Regions from separate parts of the Homo sapiens genome. Here all the other regions are linked to region 2. Evidence: promoter capture Hi-C in 16 types of primary human blood cells and fetal thymus (Javierre and others, 2016). All regions are on one chromosome and are shown on one strand. The core of a region is centred on a gene start or on the middle of the fragment in contact, and the rest is flanking DNA. Distances in the headings are between cores, read along the strand shown.

Region 1 (2,700 bases), core at 161-2,660, 580 kb before region 2:
ATCTGCCCGCCTTGGCCTCCCAAAGTGCTGGGATTACAGGCGTGAGCCACCACACCCGGCCTATATTTCTTTTCTTTTTTTTTGAGATGGAGTCTCGCTCTGTCGCCCAGGCTGGAGTGCAATGGCGTGATCTCCGCTCACTGCAACCTCTGCCTCCCTGGTTCAAGCAATTCTCCTGCCTCAGCCTCCCAAGTAGGTGGGATTACAGGCGCGCACCACCACGCCCAGCTAATTATTGTAATTTTTAGTAGAGACGGGGTTTCACCATGTTGGTCAGGCTGGTCTTGAACTCCTGACCTCGTGATCCACCCACCTCGGCCTCCCAAAGTGCTGGGATTACAGGTGTGAGCCACCATACCTGGCCTAAAAGTCAATTATATTTCTGCAGAAATTCTGAAGCAACCTCAAGATTCTGAAGCAATTTCAAGGTTCTACATAAAATTAAGTAATAAAATATGTACCAATGAGGTTTCTATATTAATCAGGCTTAGATTTTTGGGACCTGTGCAATTTCCAAAAATCAAAATCATTCTCAAAGGACAAGTACCACCAATATGCAGGCTCTGAAGCAATTCCCAGAAAGGAATCCCAAGATAAGTTCTGAAGAGGAGAAAATTACTCTTTTGGATTTATGTTTTGGTATGCTTGTGGGTATGCTTGTTTTTTTGTTTTTTAAGTCATGTTACTTTATAGTCACTATACTGAAAGTTTAAGAACTTTCTGTGTATACCAACTTTCTGTGTATAGAAACTTAATTCAGTGTTTCACTAATAGCATATTTTTACTTCGACAATAATCTTATTAAATATATATTTTTAAATTAAAAAATGCACTCTAATCTTGATAAATAATGACTATATAAGATTAACTACATTCTTACAGGGTTTATGCAGAGGCATTCGGTATTTGTCGTAGTGAAAGGATCATATTTGTCTGCAATGACAAGTAGATCGGGCACAGGATACACTCTCAAAGCATAGTCATATGCCCAATACACTGGGCAGACATAAAGAGGTAGGGGAGTCAGATGTCCTTGGGATAAGATAGTCTTTACAAACTACAAAAGAGCACAAAACAAAGCAAACTTCAGTTCATTTGCAAAAGTGAAAATAGCTAAACAAATAATTTCAAATTAAATATTAATTACCAAAAGGAACCAGAAAATTTGAGAAACTAGGAAAGCTTTGACTCACAGAGCTTTGGGAGACACTAATTTAAAAGTGAAATAAACTATTCTGTATTTTAGGAAAAAAAATCTATGAGTTTTCATTTAATAACATATACATCATTATGCTGCCCAGGCTGGTCTCAAACTCCTGGCCTCAAGCAAGCCACCCAAAGTGCTGGGATTACAGGCATAAGCCACTGCACCTGGTCCATAAACTTTAAATATTATAAAATGAATAATAAAAATGCTCTGTAACATCTATTTCCGTACTTCTCAAATGGGGGTGTATGTAACCTGTGATTGACAACTATTGTCAGGGAACCTCGAAGCTACAAGATAAATACTGCACATTCTTGTGATATGGACATACTATATAAAATATGTAACCAATGGGATAAATAAGAACAGTTTATTAAAACAAATATACATATATTTTCAAGTATAATTTAAGAGTTTAAAAGGCAAAACACGAAGCTTGAAAGAAATTTCATGCTTATTCTCAGCTTTTCTCTGTCCTCTAAAGGACATACACTTAGGTAGAAAGCTGAGAAACACTGACTTCACTAACAAAAATTAACTTACTGACAAAAGTACGTTCAAACTATTTTGAACCATAAATAAATGTCCTAACCCAAGGACAAATTATTAAGTGGCTTAATAAAATTTTATATAATGCAACATGTAAGGCAGTTTAATAAAAAAGTTGTTTCACTTACGTGATTAGGAATAGCCAAATTGCTGCTAGGAAAACGGACGCAGTTTCTGCACATTTTATTTACTAAGTCTTCACGGAAGACAGTAATTTCCTGTGTACAGTACTGAATTCTGAAATGAAAACAGTAGTTGAATTTGACTTCTCAGAAAAAAATGATATTAATTTTAAAGGTAAAATCTCTTACAATACAACCCCATTCCCACATTCACTGTTCACCACACAAAACTTCAACCAGAGTCTGTCTATTCATCTATTCATTTAACAGCTATGTATTGAGCTCTTAATATATGCCTACCCCATTCTAGGGATTAGCGAACAGAACCAAAAGATCCCAGCCCTCATACAGTTTACATTCTAGTAGGGGGTGGGGCTGAGAAAATAAAAAGCGAACATAATCATATAGTATGTTTTAAGATAATTAAGCATAAGAGAAAAAGAAAAAGACAGGCTAAGAGGGACAGCATATGTGGTAAGAGAGAGCCTAGAAGGCGGGCATATTAATAGGATGATCAGAACAGGCCGGGCTCATAATTTAGTGTGACTTGAGCACAGGCTTGAAGCGGAAGAGGGACTTAGTCAAGCAGATACCCAGAGGAAGCGCACTGCAGGCAAAGGGAACAGATGGAGCCCAGGCCCTCAGACTGGAGCTCGCCTGGCATCCTTGAGGAACAGAAGGGAGGCTAGTGTGGCTGGAGTAAATGGGGAGGAGAGGAAATCAGAGAGGTAACGGAGCCAGATAACACAGGGCCTTGATTACCACTGCAAGGATACGGCTGTCACTAAATCACGAGGGGTCCCTTTTTCCAATGAGGGTCCC
Region 2 (2,700 bases), core at 5-2,504:
AAGAAAGCCCCTGCTCAACAGGCATGACAGCTGATCACGCACCTATTCACAGTCTTTAAATGTCTTGATCTTACAGAAGGATTTATTATAAAAATGATCGTATGGTTACTACCTAAATTCACAGAGGAAGACCGCCACCATCTACAGGAAAGATGCACCCTAGCAATGCACCCAAACATGAAAGACTGATTTGCAGGAGTTGCCCCTTTCTTGTTCCTTAAAATGATTTCAAGTCCTAAATCGCAATTTGGTCGTGAAGACACTGAAGACACTGACCAAATTTTCTAAGGGTAATCTCTTGTAAACAGGTAAGACACCGTTTGCAGGAAGTGGGAAGGCGCTTTAAATTTACCTTGAGAACTGTAAAATGAATAAGAATATTATGACTCACTGACATTTCACACATGTGAAACATCCATATTACAAAAAACCATTGCCTCATAAGTGGATACCCTTGACAAGCAAACCGCCTAGGGGGAACACTCCCAAAGAACTTAATTAAAAGTAATTACCCGGCCTGAAAATGTGCTTTTGTTTTAGAAACTGTCTAAATACCAGCGGGACTTTCTCTTGCCCGATTCCAGCCTGAGGACAACAAATTGGTCAACGGCGGAAGTTGCCTGACGAAATGACTGCAACATGAAATCCAGTTTTATGATCATAACAAAACCTTCCTTCCGGGACCAGGCAAAAAAAAAAAACTTGAGAAACGTCCTTCAGAATGCAACAGGCAATTGTGAGCCCCCCATTGCCAGCCAACGAGAAACGGCTCGGCCCCGGGGACTCGAGCCCTGTGGGAGGGACGACCTGCTCCCCGTTAGAAGCTCGGGGGGCCACGGGCCACCCGCCGGCCGCCCCGCCCCTAGCACTGACCTTCCGCAGGGCCGAGACCAACAGTCCCCGCCATTTCGGACTGTTCTCCTCGCTGAAGAACTCGTAAGGCTGCGGCGCCTGCTGCATGGCCCCGGCGACAGCGCCTCCGCATCGGGGGCAGCCCGCGGGCCGGGCCGGTGGCCTGACAGGCAGGGCGCGGGCCGCCTCGCCTCGCCGGCGGCCGCCGCCTCCCGCCCGGGCCGAGGCTACGGCCGAGGCGGCTCGGAGGCGGCGCCGGCGGGCTGGCGGAGACCCCGGGGTCGGCTTCCTCCGCCGAGGCGGCCCTCGCCTCCCGCAGCGCCCGCAGAGGAAGCGCGGCGACCCGCAAGCCCGGGCGACCCCGGGCGGCGACCTCCTTTCCCGGCGGCGCTGGCCCGCTTCTGGGGCGGCTCCTCCTCCTTTGTCTGGGTTCGCGGCCCGTCAGGGGTACAGCTGGCCCAGCCCCGCCCCGACTCCCGCTACGGCCGCGGCGGGCGGTGAGCAGCGGCGGCGGCGGCGGCGGCTGCTCGTCTCCTCATCGCCTCCTCCCCGCCCTCCCAGCCGACAGCGCCGCCCGGCCCTGCCCACTCGAGTCACCTCCACAGAGCTCTGGGGACCGACCCGGAGTGCGCGTCGGGCGAGCGAGCCTCGCTATGGCGCGCACAGCGCTGGCCGCCGTTGCTGCCCCTTTAGCAGCAGCGCAGAGTGCCTTGGGGTCGCCGCTGAGCCCTGAGTCCCAGCAGCCGAGGCTCGGCCCGCCCCCTCGGCCCGGCGCTCATTATCCCGAATAGCCCAAGAGGCCTAACACGGAGCATGCGCGCCGCGGAGCAGGCACAGGCGCCAGCCCGGCGCGGGGGTGCGGGGCCTGGGGCCCCGGGGGAGTCCGCTTTTCCCGAGACTGTGCTGGGGGCCGCTCCAGACTCTTCAGTTTGACTGCTTTTTACCCATATGCTCCCTCCTCTCGACCTGCTTAAGACAATCCGGACTCGGTGCCACTCTTGTAGCGCTGGAGCCCCAGGACTACCGTCGTGGGAGGCTGCATAGGGACGTGGAGAGAAAGGGGCATTCGGGCTGGACAGGATATTTAACGTATTTGTGCTCTACGTGGCTTGTTTTCATGAGTACCGTATGTTTACACAAAGTAGGTACTATATATAATATATCGTTAGGAGATACAGTAACTATTTCTTAGGGTGATGGTGTGGGGACCGAGAGATGAGGCGTGGAAAGCCCTTAGCCTGGTGGTAGGGTCAGAAGGGGCAGATGACAGTGACGTTGATCAAGCTTGAATTGAAAGGTCCTTCACTTGCACGGGCCCCTGTGCGTTCACAAAATCATATCGTTTTTACAAAACTTTCAAGATATTTTCGAATTGTTTTCTTAATCGTGTCATCCAAATTGTGTAGGCTTCAGGTCCTACAAAACCTGGATCGGCGTCTAGGAAACACTCATTAGCAACCCAGAAAAGATCCTGACAAGCTTTTCAATCCAAAGAGGCATAGGCTCTGGTAACTCATTACCACAAATTTCATCCCACTAAAGAGGCTGAGCACATTACTTTTAACAGGTTGTAAAGAAGATATTTTACTCCCTGTCCCTAGCCACCAGCAGTGAGAAAGGGAAAAGACGAACAGGGTACAAAAAATAAGTCAGTACTACAATTCAGTTCCGGCATCAGTAGCTGAGCAATTATTCTCCCCAAAACATGCACCACTTTTTCATTTGGGCAAAATCAGAATGGCAGAGTTGGAAAATAAGATTATTTTTCTAATCCACTAAAGTATCCACTAAATCAAGAACATCCTCTAATAAATGGCCATATCCATTCACATGTACTTGGGATAAAAG
Region 3 (2,700 bases), core at 120-2,619, 650 kb before region 2:
AATTTAGCAAATTACTTTATGTTCAAGACATTAAATGATAATTACCTCATCTAGATTAAGCTTGTGACTTTCTGCCTCTATTCTTTTAAAATTCTAAAAGATAGAAGATACCTGGAACTAGCACACATAATCTAGGCTAATTTTTGGACCCTGTATAGCCTTGATTCCTACACACACATATACTCAGTCTATCTACAAACTGAGCCTTTTATGTTCTACATTAACCTTCCTGAGAAACAGCTAATAGTGCAGCCTTTTTTTTTTTTTTAAGTGATACAAACATGACTCATTGAAACCTGGACCTCTTGGGCTCAAGTTATCCTCTCATCTCAGCCTCCTGAGAAACTGGGACTACAGACATGCACCACCACGCCTGGCTAATTGTTTTTGGGTTTTTTTGTTTGTTTAATTTTGGTAGATAGGGGATCTCCTGATGTTGCCCAGGCTGGTCTGGAACTCCTGGCATCAAACCATCCTCCTGCCTCAGCCTCCCAAAAGGCTAGGATTACAGGCATGAGCCACTTTGCCTGGCCTCTTTTTTTCAATTTTTGTCAATATTGAGGAAATTAAAACACTTTATTATACCCTTCTTAATCATACCACTAGAAGTGTTTTTTCTCTGCCTACCTAAAAACCCAAATCCCTAATACACCAATTACCATTAAAGATAGTTTTTAAGAACGATGTCCTAGCAGAGGTTATGCAAGCAGGCTGCTTTAAAACTGTTGAAGGCCAGGCACAGTGGCTCATGCCTTGATTATGGTTTGTGGGCTGTGTCCCCACCCAAATCTCATCTTGAATTGTACTCGCATAATCCCCACATGTTGTGAGAGGGACCCGGTGGGAGATAACTGAATCATGGGAGCGGTTTCCCCCATACTTTCTCATGGTAGTGAGTAAGTATCACGAGAACTGATGGTTTTATAAGGGATATCTGCTTTCATGTCTTCCTCATTTCCTGCTTGCCGCTGCCATCTAAGAAGTGCCTTTTGCCTTCTACCATAATTGTGAGGCATCCCCAGCCACATGGAACTGTGAGTCCAATAAACCTATTTTTCTTCCCAGTCTTAGGTATGTCTTTATCAGCAGTGTGAAAATGAACTAATACAAGCCTGTGATCCCAGCACTTTGGGAAGCTGAGGTGGGAGGATCCCTTGAGGTCAGGAGTTCGAAACCAGCCTGGCCAAGAGGATGAAACCCCATCTCTACAAAAATACAAAAATTAGTCAGGTGTGGTAGTGGGCACCTGTAATCCCAGCCACTTGGGAGGCTGAGACAGAAGAATCACTTGAACCTGGGAGGTGGAAGTTGCAGAGAGCTGAGCTTGCATCACTGCACTCCAGTCAGAGGAAGACTTCATCTCAAAAACAATACATAAATAAAATTTTAAAAAATAAAACTGTTGGGGGCATTAGCCACACGAACAACTGTCCAAAAGCCAGGGTCTCTGGTTTTTGTTGTTTTTGTTTTTACAGTTTTATTGGTTTTATTTAAACCCCAATAAAACAAACACATTCACTGTCTATTCACTTTCTGCACTGTGCAGGCTGGCATTGGCATTGGTGACTCTGATGACCACCTGGGCTGCTCTTTCCAAGATGGCTTTGCAGTTCTTGGAAGAAACATCATGAGTGATCTCAACACAGTAAGATTTGTTGCTCACCAGCAGTACTTCCAGCTCCTTAACGTTGTGGACCAGGAACTTCCAGAAGCCACTGGGCAGTATGTGCTTTGTCTTTTTGTTTCTCCCATAACCAATGTTGGGCATAGATCTGGCCCTCAAACCTTCTATGAACCCTGTTGTTAATACCTCTGTGTTTCCACCAGTTACCCTTAATTTTGACATATCAGTCTGACTGGTTCCCAGTGAACTTGGTGCTCTTTTTGATGATCTTGGGCTTCGCGAGCGGTCTCAGGATGGCCATGATGGAGGAGATGGGTGTCACCTCCATAGGCAGTGCCAAGGAAGACAGCTCAGGTCTTTCTGTAATGGTAAAAGAGGACCCATAAAAAGTGAAAAAGCAATGATGCCCAACCAAATTCAATAAATTTGTACTGCATGCCTGCCCTGTGAAACATGTTATGTCACTATCAGGATCTAGATTGAGTGGAATTAATTCAGAGAACACCAAAGATCACTCTAAATCATGTTTTAGAGAAACAGTTGAAATAATCAGAGATGGTTATACTGGAAATAAGAAGATTCTAGGAAAACATGAGAGCCTTCATGCCTAAATATTTAGCCCTTTTTTTTTTCAGAGATTAGACTTGTTTTGTACAGGACAACACAGAATTAATATCAATGAGTAGCAGTCAAAATCAGTAGAATGAAATCATAGCAACCTAAGAAAAAACTTACCATCAAAGCAATCTAAAAATAGAATGAGCTGTTTTAGGAGGAGCAGAAGCCTCACTAGCAATATTGGTACCAGGGACATTATACACTGCAGTATCTGGATACTCAATCTCTAAATGAGTCTTAATCAGATACTGCTACAAATCAAATCATAAATCACATCACCCAAAGTCAAATGCTGCTAACATAATGACATGTTTCCTTCTGATTTTTTTCCCTGTGTACTTGTTTTTTAACATAATAAAATTGTAGCACATATACAATTTTTCACTTTTTATAAAAAAAATTTCTTTCGGCAATTTTGTAGACTACCAATATTTACCAAAGCTTTCACTTTTTTTTTT
Region 4 (2,700 bases), core at 142-2,641, 630 kb after region 2:
ATTTTTAAGAACAGAAAAAACCCACTTGCTGTGCTGAGTCCTGGCTGAGGCATGTCCAACATAGCAATAGTCCTGACTTTAGTTAGAGCTGTCCTCTTTCCTTTATTTTTTACATTACAAAATAATTCATTTCCATCCTGGCATGGTGGCTTGCACCTGTAGTCCCAGCTACTGGGGAGGCCAAGGTGGAAGGATCAGTTGAGCCCAGGAATTCTAAGTGACAAAGAGCTATGACTGCACCACTGCACTTCAGCCTGGGCAACAGAGTGAGACCCCCATCTTTAAAAAAATAAAAGTTGCACAATTAAAGAAATAAATACAATAAATTCATTTCTTGGGAAAAGATTAAACAATACAAAAGTGTGGAAAATAAAAAGCAAAACTGTATAAATAAAAAGCCTTATTTCCCTGATCCTAGTCCCCAGAGATAGTCCCTGTCTCAGTGTGGATTTTAAATACGCATATGGAGGGTCAAAGTTACAAATCCAATATGGCATCGGAAATGTAAAATTATGCCTAGACTTGTCTAGAGAGTCGAGCTGGATGGAAATGCTACAATAAATGCACATTTCTTTTGTAGTGGAAGAAATAAGCTATCTAGAATACAATACATACAAGGAACTCTTTTGATCAGGGAGGGCCTGAGGTTCAGGAGTGGCTGTGCAGTTTGACTCCTGGCTCTGAGCTTTCTCACTGGCTACTCAACAGGTCACTGCCAGGTAGTGTCCCACACCCAGACAGAGGGGTAACCAACCACCCAGTGCAATGAGGCTGCCCATCCTGGGGGAGCTGGATTGTTTGGTTTTAAAATGCCTGGGCTGGAAGTGCATGCTGGGATGGGGGGAAGCAAGCTGACCCGGGGCTGAGCAGGAAGGGCCCAGGAGCCTGCCTGGGAGCTCACCCCTCCCCAACCCTTCTCTTTAAAGCCACCATCATTCTTCCAACTTGTCAAGCCACACCAAGGCCAAGGGAAGCACAGCACCGGTAGGCTAGGGCTTTGGAAAGCAGAGGCAACAGCTGTGCGAGGGGAAAGCTCCGGGCAGGAGGCAGCCCTGGCTGAGTCTAAAAATAAAACCCGGCCTGACAGCCTGACAAAGGGGCTCTTGTCAGGCGCAGCAAGAGGGGCTGTCCTGGCCGCCCTTGTGAGGCTGTTCTGGGGCCATGTGGGGAATCCCTCCCTTTCTGCCTTTGGGGTGTCATTCTCCAACGGCCTCTTCAGGTGGACCAGGCTGTCCTCAGTAAACAAGCCGCCTCAGCTGGGGGTTTAAAGATGGATCGGCCGCGCCACTGCACTCCAGCCTGGGCGACATAGCGAGTATCCGTCTCAAAAAAAAAAAAAAAAAAAAAAAAAAAAAAGATGGATCGGCTGTGGTACCTTTGTGTACAGACTCTCCTGTCTGCAGTGAAAGTGAAACCGGGTACACGCCCATCTTGCTCTTCAGAGATGGGCGATCTGCCTGTGCCATACTAGAACAGCAGCTCCAGATAGGCAGGGATGAAACACATCCGTCTTTGGGAAGGAAGAAGGAGTGCCGCTGTGTTTCCCCATTTTATAAAAAGGAGCCCTTGGAACCGATTTGCTCTCAAGATGTTGTCAGCTCCAGGCCAAAGTGGGCTCCCCACAAAGGCAGTCCTTTTACTCTCTGCACCGCACAGAGCTCGTTTTCTGAGCCTGTGGGGTGGGAATATCCCGCCTGTGCTCCCCGGGTTTCAACTCGGCTGGTCAGGAGGAAGTTTCTCAGCTTTAAAATGATCAAATTCCTCAACGGATTGAAAAAAAAATGTCAATAGAAAAAGCAAAAACATCAGGGAAATTAGAAAATTAAGCACTAATGAGGAGCAGGAAACATCTGCTAGAAGGAATTCCTCTAGTATTTAATTTTAAAGGTTTTAAAAATGTGTATCTTTTTGGTGTAAATAATTTTAAAACAGAGCTAGCCGGCATCTCAATCTCTAGATTCAAACTTTCTGGCTCCAAGGTGTCACCATTGTTTGTGCTGCTCATCAGCTCACTGCTGCCCCCGCGTGTCTGATCTAAAAATCACAACACAGAGCTTGTTATCAATTTTATGCTTTGCAAATAAATGGAGAAAAGTCCCACCCACCCCCGCCCCCAACCTATTAGCTCCCATGACAACAAACGGTATAGAATGAAAGCAATGTTTTAGCTTGTTAGTGACAGCTGCATAACCCAGGTGAATTTTCAACAAGTCTTTCATTCGAGAAGATATCATTAGATTACTTTTTTTTTTTTTTTTTGCAATTCATTGAGCCTTTGCTGAAAGGATAAATTTAATTCTTAGAGGGAGTGGTTATGGTTATATTAGTGATGTAAGTCTTACTAATGATATCCTCTTCCTGAGAAACTACATGAGTTACTTATTGACCTGCATTAGAGTTTATTTTATAACATTACATAAAAACCCTACATTTAAGATGATTGAAAGTTTGCTTTCAATCACAAAGAGTCTGTGATGTGAGAGAATTTCTGACATAAGGCTCAAACATTAACCAAAGGGCAGCTTCTTTGTGTTCACCTGGTACCTTTGTCTGTAGTGAGCAGATTGGATCACTGTTTTGATGTGAAACTAGTCTGCCTCTGTGATTTCTACTGAGGACCAATTTTTCCTATTTCTTGCTCATCTATGTAGTTTATCTGAGCCACTTTTTGCTTTATAAAAACTGGGACCACACAGAATA
Region 5 (2,747 bases), core at 167-2,666, 590 kb after region 2:
CACAATTTTGGTCCAGGTTCCTGGTCTTGGACAGGTCTCTTCTCCTAATTATCAGTTTTTCTGTTACTAAGGTGCTGCAGGCTCTGGCTGTCTTCCCAGGATTGGTCTGTTGGGTTAACTAATCACTATGTAAATGTTTTCAAAATAAGTTGAGAGTGTTATATAAACATCAAAGCCTCAGAAAAGAAACACCAAGTTGTTATGCAAAGCCACAGGAGTTAAGAATTTAGACAAGGCCAACACTTCGCTAACAAGATTCACTTAGAGTCCACCAGTTAATTGTCAACTAAGATCTGCTGAGAATCCCCAAGGTGCTCCAGGATTTTCAGTGTTGCGGTAGCTCTTAGTCTCACTCTGAGTTTTACAGTCCCCTGGGCTGTTATCTGACCGACCTCATAAAAGCAAGACTCTTCTTTTGCTTGATTTTGCATATATGTTTAAAAACTCAAAAGCGAAAGAATTCTAACACTTCCCTTTTTAAAAATTATTTTTAAGGGGCGGGGATTTGTCCATCTTAAACCAATGAAAGAGAGGAATAAAACACTGATGTACTGAGAAGCCCTGATCTTATCCACGGTGTCGAATTTGATATACTATCATGCCCCACTCTTTGGGAGGTCATTGGATTTTCACTAAATCAAACCTCTTTCATTTTATGGCAGCTTTCTTTTCTTTATCTCTTTATTTCATCTCCTTCCTTCTCAAAACACTGTGCTTGACTGAAGGGGAGACAAGCACCACCCCTGTGGAACAAATGCTCACGCTGAAACATCCAGGAGATGTTACGCATGGTGACAAGTTGTCAGTGCTCATCTGGCACAGAAGGCATTTTTACTGGTTGATATTATTTCCCAAATGTTCATCAGTAATTTCATGTGCAAGAATTTTTTTCTCCCCACTTGGCAGAAAGTTCTTTAATGGTAAGATCCACGCTCCTATTTCTTTTATATCTTCCCCCAAATGCATACTACAGTCAGTCTGTTCTTCAAGCCAGGGATTTGGTAAATATCATGGATTGACTTCCTGTATGGATCACTCCTTGAGAGGAAACGTACCCTAAATGAGGTCTACAGAAATGGGCATATGAAAATTTTGGAATGCCCATCTCATCCACCTACACACCTCCACTTCCCCCATCCCACCCTTTCTCAAAGGCATTTTCAGCCTCCTAAGCAAGAAGTAGAAAGCCAACACCAACTGCCAATCTGTAACATGCAGCGCTGTCTGAAGTTTAATTCAATAGGCTAGTAATTAAGTAAATGGATTCACAAACTTCGACTGCATTGTCTTGCTATGGGATGAAACTTTGGAGGAGAATCTATACTAAAACCTTTCTCAAGTCCCCTCGATTACAGCATGAGAATAACAATATCCATCTGGAAGGTTTGTTCTGAGAGTTAAATGTGGCAAGCAAGCGAGAGTGGCTAATTCCAGAGAAAGCTGATACAAGAGGGAATTTAAGATAACCAAAAGAATACCTGCAGCTACAAAGGAGTGGTAAACTGAAGAGGAGGTAACAAGTGAATTATCTACAGATCTACCTCCAAAGAAGCAAAGCAGGAGATGTGAAATGCTATAGAACAGACTGAGAATGGGCAGGGAGTGTACTATGTATATAAACATCATTATATAACTAAATGATAATGGCAGCAGGTAATGTTCAGAGCTTCCTCTATCTTTAAAAGCAGGTTATTGATAAATTTAATGTCAAATAAAAGCAGAAAGCTGCACTGTAACTGGGAATTACTTCTGAACATTTACTATGAGTCTGGCCTAAACTAAGTACTTTATGTATATCATCTCATTTAATCCTCCCAAATCTTAGAAGTGGATCTTCTCATTTTCCCACGCAAGATGTAGAAATTGGGGCTTGGCAAAATTAAGCCACTGTCCAAGGAGACAGCATTAATCTCCTTGAACAAAATGGGGGTGGAGCCAAGATTTGCACTCTAGTGTGACACTGAATTATATTATCCCTCAATCCTACACATGCACACAGAACACATGAATGAGACCTCTGAAATGATGCCATTGGCAAACCACTTATCTCCACCTTTATGTGTTAGCCAGTTGAACAGTACTAAGCAGTAGAAATCCCCACACAACACTCCATGGCCACAAACTTTTCCAAATTGGAATTGAGAAGCAGAGTTCCTTCCTTCCTACCTCCCTTGATCCATTTATTGAATAATTATAGCCTACAAGGCACCAGGGATATACAGATAGAATACACATTCCCTTTTTTTTCTAAAGCAGCTTTGGGATTTAGGGCATGAAAGAAAGAAATTCTTATATAAAAATGATCATGAAGTGTCCCATGTCTTCAATAATGGGCATTGCCCAGGAATTGGTAATTCGTAAATGACTTCCCCTGAATAAACACTTAAGTATGTATAATCTGTGCAATCCAGTGCTTTTCAGGGTCAGATCCTAACTGGTACCCACCAGAGGCAGGAGTCTTACTCAGAGATTAAGAAAGTTACATTTTGAGCGAGAAATTCTACTTCAAATTGCAAAGAAGAGCTCCAGTGTTACGAAGCCTGCCATAATAAACCTGGGCCTCTCCTCACCATCTACCTTTCCAGTCAAATTGTCAGAAGGCTTTATGACTCTTTCGGAATGAAAGAACCAGTATGGGCAATATTTTGGAGTTCTAACTGGGGATGGTTAAATAAGAAGCAGATGCACAGAACCATTAATCAAAACATTTACCACTCAATAACCACCCATAATGACAATTATTCTGA
Region 6 (2,700 bases), core at 128-2,627, 600 kb before region 2:
CGAGACCATCCTGGCTAACACGGTGACACCCAATCTCTACTAAAAATACAAAAAATTAGCCAGGCATGGTAGCATGCTCCTGTAGTCCCAGCTACTTGGGAGGCTGAGGCAGGAGAATCGCTTGAACCCAGGAGGCGGAGGTTGCAGTGAGATGAGATCGCGCTACTGCACTTCAGCCTGGGTGACAGAGGGAGACTCCATCTCAAAAAAAAAAAAAAGAAAAACTTTTCTTCTCTTAACATCACTCTGCCCAACCATTATGTAAATTTTGTTTAAAGTTATGATATTAAGAAATCAATAATTTGTTAGGTTTTAACTCTGTGCTTCATTACTCCTCTATAGAGCCCATCAACTTCCTTACCTTTGCATTAATTTGAATCTTATTATCAGTAACTTGAAGAACTTCAATTAATGGTGGGGTCAAGGACATAGACTGTTTGAATGGAGAGCTCAGGACCTCTTCAAGAAACTCATTAACATTTTCTTCATTGACAAATAACCTTTCCTAAAATAAAAAGGGAAAAAATATTCTGCCTAATAAGTCCCACTTGACAACAGTTGTATCTCAAAGCAGCTCACAAAAATTCTCACATTGTTCAGGGTTACACTTTTTAAAATGTTTATTTTAATGTTATTCCTATGAGCTGTCTTAGAAAAATTTAAGTTTGGTATTGTACAGAGCAATAAGAGTTGTACTGAGAACAAACATAAACGTATAGAAAAAGAACCTAAAAGAAAGAGGTCTTGGTACTTTTTCTGTCTATTAAACCTGACCTTTTAGTATTTTTCTTTCTTTTTTTGTTTCTTTTGTTTTGTTTTTTTGAGACATAGTCTCACTCTGTTGCCCAGGCTGGAGTGCAGTGGTGCAATCTCGGCTCACTGCAACCTCCGCCTCCCAGGTTCAAGCAATTCTCCTGCCCCAGACTACCGAGTAGCTGGGATTACAGGCGACTGCCACCATGCCGGACTAATTTTTGTATTTTTGGTAGAGATGGGGTTTTACCATGTTGGCCAGACTGGTCTTGAACTCCTGACCTCAAGCTATCCACCTGCCCTGGCCTCCCAAAGGGCTGGGATTACAGGTGTGAGCAACCACAGCTGGCCTCTTTTAGTATTTCAGAAGAATAACATCATCTCTAGGGCTATAAATGGGATCCCAGATACAAAATATAATTCAGCTTTAAAACATTTCCTAATGAGGTGGCTAAGAAATATACATGAAAAGATCTATTCAAATTTTGTGTGACCTTTTAGTTCTTGGGCAGGTAAGAGCCAATTACAGTATTTTATTTCAAATAAGTGGTGTGTTTTTTTGTTTGATTTTGTTTTTGAGACAGAGTCTTGCTCTGTCTCCCAGGCTGGAGTGCAGTGGCATAATCACGGCTCGCTGCAGCCTTGACCTCCCAGGCTCAAGTGATCCTCCCGCCTCAGCCTCTACAGTAGCTGGGACCACAGAACATGCCACCACTCTCGGCTAAGTTTTGCATTTTTTTGTAGAGACAGGGTTTTGCCCTGTTGCACAGGCTGGCCTCAAACTTCTGCACTCAAGTGATCCACCTGCTTTGGCCTCCCAAAGTGCTGGGATTACAGGCGTGAGCCACCACCACACCCAGCCCCCGCCCCCCTTTTTTTCTTTTTTTTGCCTTGAGACAGGGTCTCACTTTGTTGCCCAGGCTGGAATGCAGTCGCACACTCATAGCCCCCTGCAGCCTTGACCTCCCTGGCTCAAGCAATCCTCCACCTGTGCCCCCAAGTGCCTGGGTACCTGGGACTACAGGTGCATGCCATAATGCCCAGCTAATTTTTACATTTTTGGGGCCTGGTGTGGCAGCTAACGCCTGTAATTCCAGCACTTTGGGAGGCCAAGGTGGGTGGATCACTTCAGGTCAGGAATTCGAGACCAGCCTGGCCAACATAGTGAAACCCTGTCTCTACTAAAACTGCAATCACGTGAACCCGTGAGGCGGAGATTGCAGTGAGTCCAGCCTGGGCGACAGAGTGAGACTCTGTCTCAAAAAAAAAAATTTGACATTTTTTGTAGATACAGGTCTCACTTTGTTGTCCAGGCTGGTCTCCAACTCCTGGATTCAAGCTGTCCTCCTACCTTGGCCTACCAAAGTGCTGGGATTACGGGCGTGAGCCACTGCACCCAGCCAAGTGTATTATATTTTTAAGCACTGGGATACTCCAGCGTAACATTAGCAAACTGTATAGTTATTAAAAGAATGAAGTAGAGAGCATATATTCAGGGCATTTTGAATCTATGCTCCAGAGAAAAAGTAAATTATGAAAAAAATTAGGCTGGGCACAGTGGCTCATGCTTATAATTCCAGCACTTTAGGAGGCCAAGGCAGGTGGATTGTTTGAGCCCAGAAGTTCGAGACCAGCCTAGGCAACATGGCAAAACTCATCTCTACAAAAAATACAAAAATTAGCCGGGAGTGGTAGCATGCACCTGTGGTCCTAGCTACTCCAGAGGCTAAGGTGGGATGATCGCTTGAGTCTGGGAGGTTGAGGCTGCAGTGAGCCATGATCGCACCACTGCACTCCAGCCTGGGTGAGACAGAGCGAGACTCTGTCTCCCAAATAAATAAATAAATAAATAAATAATGAGGTAGATTTCAAGATGCTGACATGAAAAGATTTCTAAACTATTACTAGAAAATGCAAAAATCACCTTTTACCTGAATCCCAAACACA
Region 7 (2,700 bases), core at 85-2,584, 630 kb before region 2:
TGGGTGCCACCACTCCTGGCGAATTTTTGTCTACTGTGCCTGGCCCTTACTGTAATCATTCCTTTTTTTTTTTTTTTTTTTTTTTTTTTAATGAGACAGAGTCTCTCCCTGTCACCCAGGCTGGATTACAGTGGCGTGATCTCAGCTCACTGCAACCTCCACCTCCCGGGTTCAAGCGATTCTCCTGCCCCAGCCTCCCAGTAGCTGGGATTACAGGCACGTGCCGCCATGCCCAGCTAATTTTTTGTATCTTTAGTAGAGACGGGTTTCACCATGTTGGCCCGGCTGGTCTCAAACTCCTGACCTCGTGATCCGCCCACCTTGGCCGCCCAAAGTGCTGGGATTATAGGCATGAGCCACCGTGCCCGGACTGTAATCATTCTTATAAAAATATAAACTGAGGCTGGGTGCCATAGCTCACACCTGTAATCCCAGCACTTTGGAAGGCCAAGACTGGTGGATCACTTGCTCTCAGGAGTTCAAGACCAGCCTGGGCAACATGGTGAAACCCTGTCTCCACAAAAAAAAAAAAAAAAATTAGCCAGGCGTGGTTTTCACACCTGTGGTGCCAGCTACTTGGGAGCCTGAGGTGGGAGGATCACTTGAGCCTGGGAGGTGCAGGTTACAATGAGCCAAGATTGCACCACTGCACTCCAACCTGGGCGACAGAGCCAGACCCTGTCTCAAACAAAACAAAACAAAACAAAACAAAAATACCATAAACTGGCTGGGTGCAGTGGCTCACACCTGGGAGGCCGAGGCAGGAGGATCACTTAATCCCACAAGTTAGAACCTGGAGGCCAGACACGGTGGCTCACGCCTATGATCCCAGCACTTTGGGAGCCCTAGTTGGGCGGATTGCTTGAATCCAGGTGTTCAAGATCAGCCTGGGTGACATGGTGAAACCCCATCTCTACAAAAAAATTAGCCAGGCATAGTGGTGTGCACCTGTAATCTCAGCTACTTGGGAGGCTGAGGTGGAGGGTCACCTGAGCCTGGAAGGTCAAGGCTGCAGTGAACTGTGATTGCAGCCACTGCACTCCATCCTGGTTGATAGAGCAAGACCCTGTCTCAAAAAAAAGTTCAGGGCTTCGGTGAACTATGATTGTGCCACTGTACTCCAGCATGGGTGACAGAGCAAGACCCTTTCTCAAACAAAAAAAATTTATAAACCATTAGAATTTTAAAACTGGTGGTTTTTTTCTGCCTTCTGCCCTCTGCCCTATTCCTCTTTCCCTTCCTGATGGGTGGAAACAATGTCTCGTTGTTCAACCTTGCTTTTTTTTTCTTTTTGATGAGACAAGGTCTCACTCTCACCTAGGCTGGAGTGCAGTGGCACCATCACAGCTCACTGCACCCTCGACCTTCCAGGCTCAGGTGATCCTTCCTTCTCAGCCTCCCAAGTAACTGGGACTATAGGGGCACAACACCATACCAGGCTAATTTTTTTGTACTGGTAGAGACAGGGTTTCACCTTGTTGCACAGGCTGGTCTCAAACTCCTGGGCTCAAGCAATCTGTCCACGTTGGCCTCCCAAAGTGGTGAAATTACAGGCATGGTCCACCACATCTGGCCCAACTGTGCATTATTTTTAACTCCAAGCAAAGTGCTCTGCAACATTAAAAGTTCGATAACTAAGGAGTTTGGATTGAATGGAATAATTTTGTCCCATCTCCTCCTTGTGATTTTTCATTTTTTTTCTTGACTTGCAGCTTATTCTTTCACTAATTCTTCCTTTCTATCTAAAAACAAGCTGAGATCTTACTGATTTTAAAAAAAGAAAACAAATTTCTAGAAAGACAAGGCTGAATTCATTGTCTCCACTTTTTATCTTTTGACCTTTACTGGTTTACTGAAAACACTGTCTCAGAGATCACTGATCTTTTCACTTGTCTATCACAGTATCATTATTTCTCATTATTTTTGCACTCTGTAGAATTTGACAATGATAATTACCCTTTTCTTAATAAAACTCTTTCTTTTCTTGGTATCTATGATAGGGCACTATGGTTTACCTTCAGTTTTCTTAGTCACTTCTTTGTCTCTTGCTTCCAGCAACATTTTTTTCTATCCCCAAAATAAAGGCTTTATTTCAGTCCTCTGCTGTTTTCTGTCATACCTGCCTTCCATTTGATAGTTCAGCTGTTATATGGGTGAATCCCAAGTCTGTGAACCAGTATGCTTTATTGTACCTAGTTGACCCAGGTCTTCTCCAGACTTTTCCCTACTCTGGTTCATTGTGTACAGTGCTACCAAAATAGTATTTAGTTCTTGTCATGTAACTTTCATACTTAAAATCCCTCCACTTTACGTTGGCATCTGAGCTCATTTACAATCTGTCCTCATACTGTATTTCCAATCTTTTGCTCTACATAGCTTCCATGTTCCAACAAAAATTAGCTTTTTTTTTTTTCTTTTTTTTTTTTTTATATGGAGTCGCTCTGTCGCCCAGGCTGCCGTGCAGTCTTGCGATCTTGGCTTACTGCAACCTCTGCCTCCCAGTTTCAAGCAACTCTCCTGCCTCAGCCTACCAAGCAGCTGGGATTACAGGCGCCTGCCGCCATGCCCCACTAATTTTTATATTTTTAGTAGAGACGGGGTTTCACCATGTTGGCCAAGCTGGCCTTGAACTCCTAACCTCAGGTGATCCACCCACCTTGGCCTCCCAAAGTGCTAGGATTATAGGCGTGAGCCACCAGT

The links. Contacts are between HindIII fragments. The CHiCAGO score rates a contact against its expected background, and 5 or more counts as called.
Region 1: a fragment that was not itself captured here is called in contact with the fragment with the promoter of SOS2 in region 2 in 2 of 17 cell types (fetal thymus and total CD8 T cells); the score reaches 5.6 in fetal thymus.
Region 3: a contact is called between a fragment that was not itself captured here and the fragment with the promoter of SOS2 in region 2, in 2 of 17 cell types (non-activated CD4 T cells and activated CD4 T cells). The highest score is 6.9, in non-activated CD4 T cells.
Region 4: a contact is called between a fragment that was not itself captured here and the fragment with the promoter of SOS2 in region 2, in 1 of 17 cell types (neutrophils). The highest score is 5.4, in neutrophils.
Region 5: a fragment that was not itself captured here is called in contact with the fragment with the promoter of SOS2 in region 2 in 4 of 17 cell types (fetal thymus, neutrophils, activated CD4 T cells and 1 more); the score reaches 6.7 in fetal thymus.
Region 6: a fragment that was not itself captured here is called in contact with the fragment with the promoter of SOS2 in region 2 in 3 of 17 cell types (total CD4 T cells, monocytes and fetal thymus); the score reaches 6.4 in total CD4 T cells.
Region 7: a fragment that was not itself captured here is called in contact with the fragment with the promoter of SOS2 in region 2 in 1 of 17 cell types (fetal thymus); the score reaches 5.0 in fetal thymus.

The regions. Positions count from the first base shown.
Region 1 is chr14:49,649,385-49,652,084 of GRCh38, forward strand. POLE2 (DNA polymerase epsilon 2, accessory subunit) reads right to left here. Exons shown (of 19, transcript NM_002692.4): 16 at 1,885-1,993; 17 at 881-1,057. Among named protein-coding and RNA genes, the nearest start is that of DNAAF2, 15 kb to the left of the region's middle. The HindIII fragment of the contact is 460 bases long and covers 1,181-1,640 here.
Region 2 is chr14:50,230,324-50,233,023 of GRCh38, forward strand. SOS2 (SOS Ras/Rho guanine nucleotide exchange factor 2) reads right to left here and starts at 1,255. Exons shown (of 23, transcript NM_006939.4): 1 at 874-1,255. The coding sequence starts at 960. RefSeq lists a silencer at 847-1,926 and an enhancer at 2,077-2,166. The HindIII fragment of the contact is 6,352 bases long and covers 1-2,134 here.
Region 3 is chr14:49,575,870-49,578,569 of GRCh38, forward strand. It overlaps a transcript of RPS29 not described here and the pseudogene RPL32P29. Among named protein-coding and RNA genes, the nearest start is that of RPS29, 9.2 kb to the right of the region's middle. The HindIII fragment of the contact is 2,623 bases long and covers 59-2,681 here.
Region 4 is chr14:50,858,666-50,861,365 of GRCh38, forward strand. No RefSeq gene overlaps it. Among named protein-coding and RNA genes, the nearest start is that of ABHD12B, 12 kb to the right of the region's middle. The HindIII fragment of the contact is 5,285 bases long and covers 1-2,700 here.
Region 5 is chr14:50,823,699-50,826,445 of GRCh38, forward strand. The region is part of intron 2 of NIN (ninein); the gene reads right to left. Among named protein-coding and RNA genes, the nearest start is that of NIN, 6.1 kb to the right of the region's middle. The HindIII fragment of the contact is 4,605 bases long and covers 1-2,747 here.
Region 6 is chr14:49,627,651-49,630,350 of GRCh38, forward strand. DNAAF2 (dynein axonemal assembly factor 2) reads right to left here. Exons shown (of 3, transcript NM_018139.3): 2 at 362-505. Among named protein-coding and RNA genes, the nearest start is that of DNAAF2, 6.2 kb to the right of the region's middle. The HindIII fragment of the contact is 7,948 bases long and covers 1-2,700 here.
Region 7 is chr14:49,603,620-49,606,319 of GRCh38, forward strand. The region is part of intron 2 of LRR1 (leucine rich repeat protein 1); the gene reads left to right. Among named protein-coding and RNA genes, the nearest start is that of LRR1, 6.0 kb to the left of the region's middle. The HindIII fragment of the contact is 5,469 bases long and covers 1-2,700 here.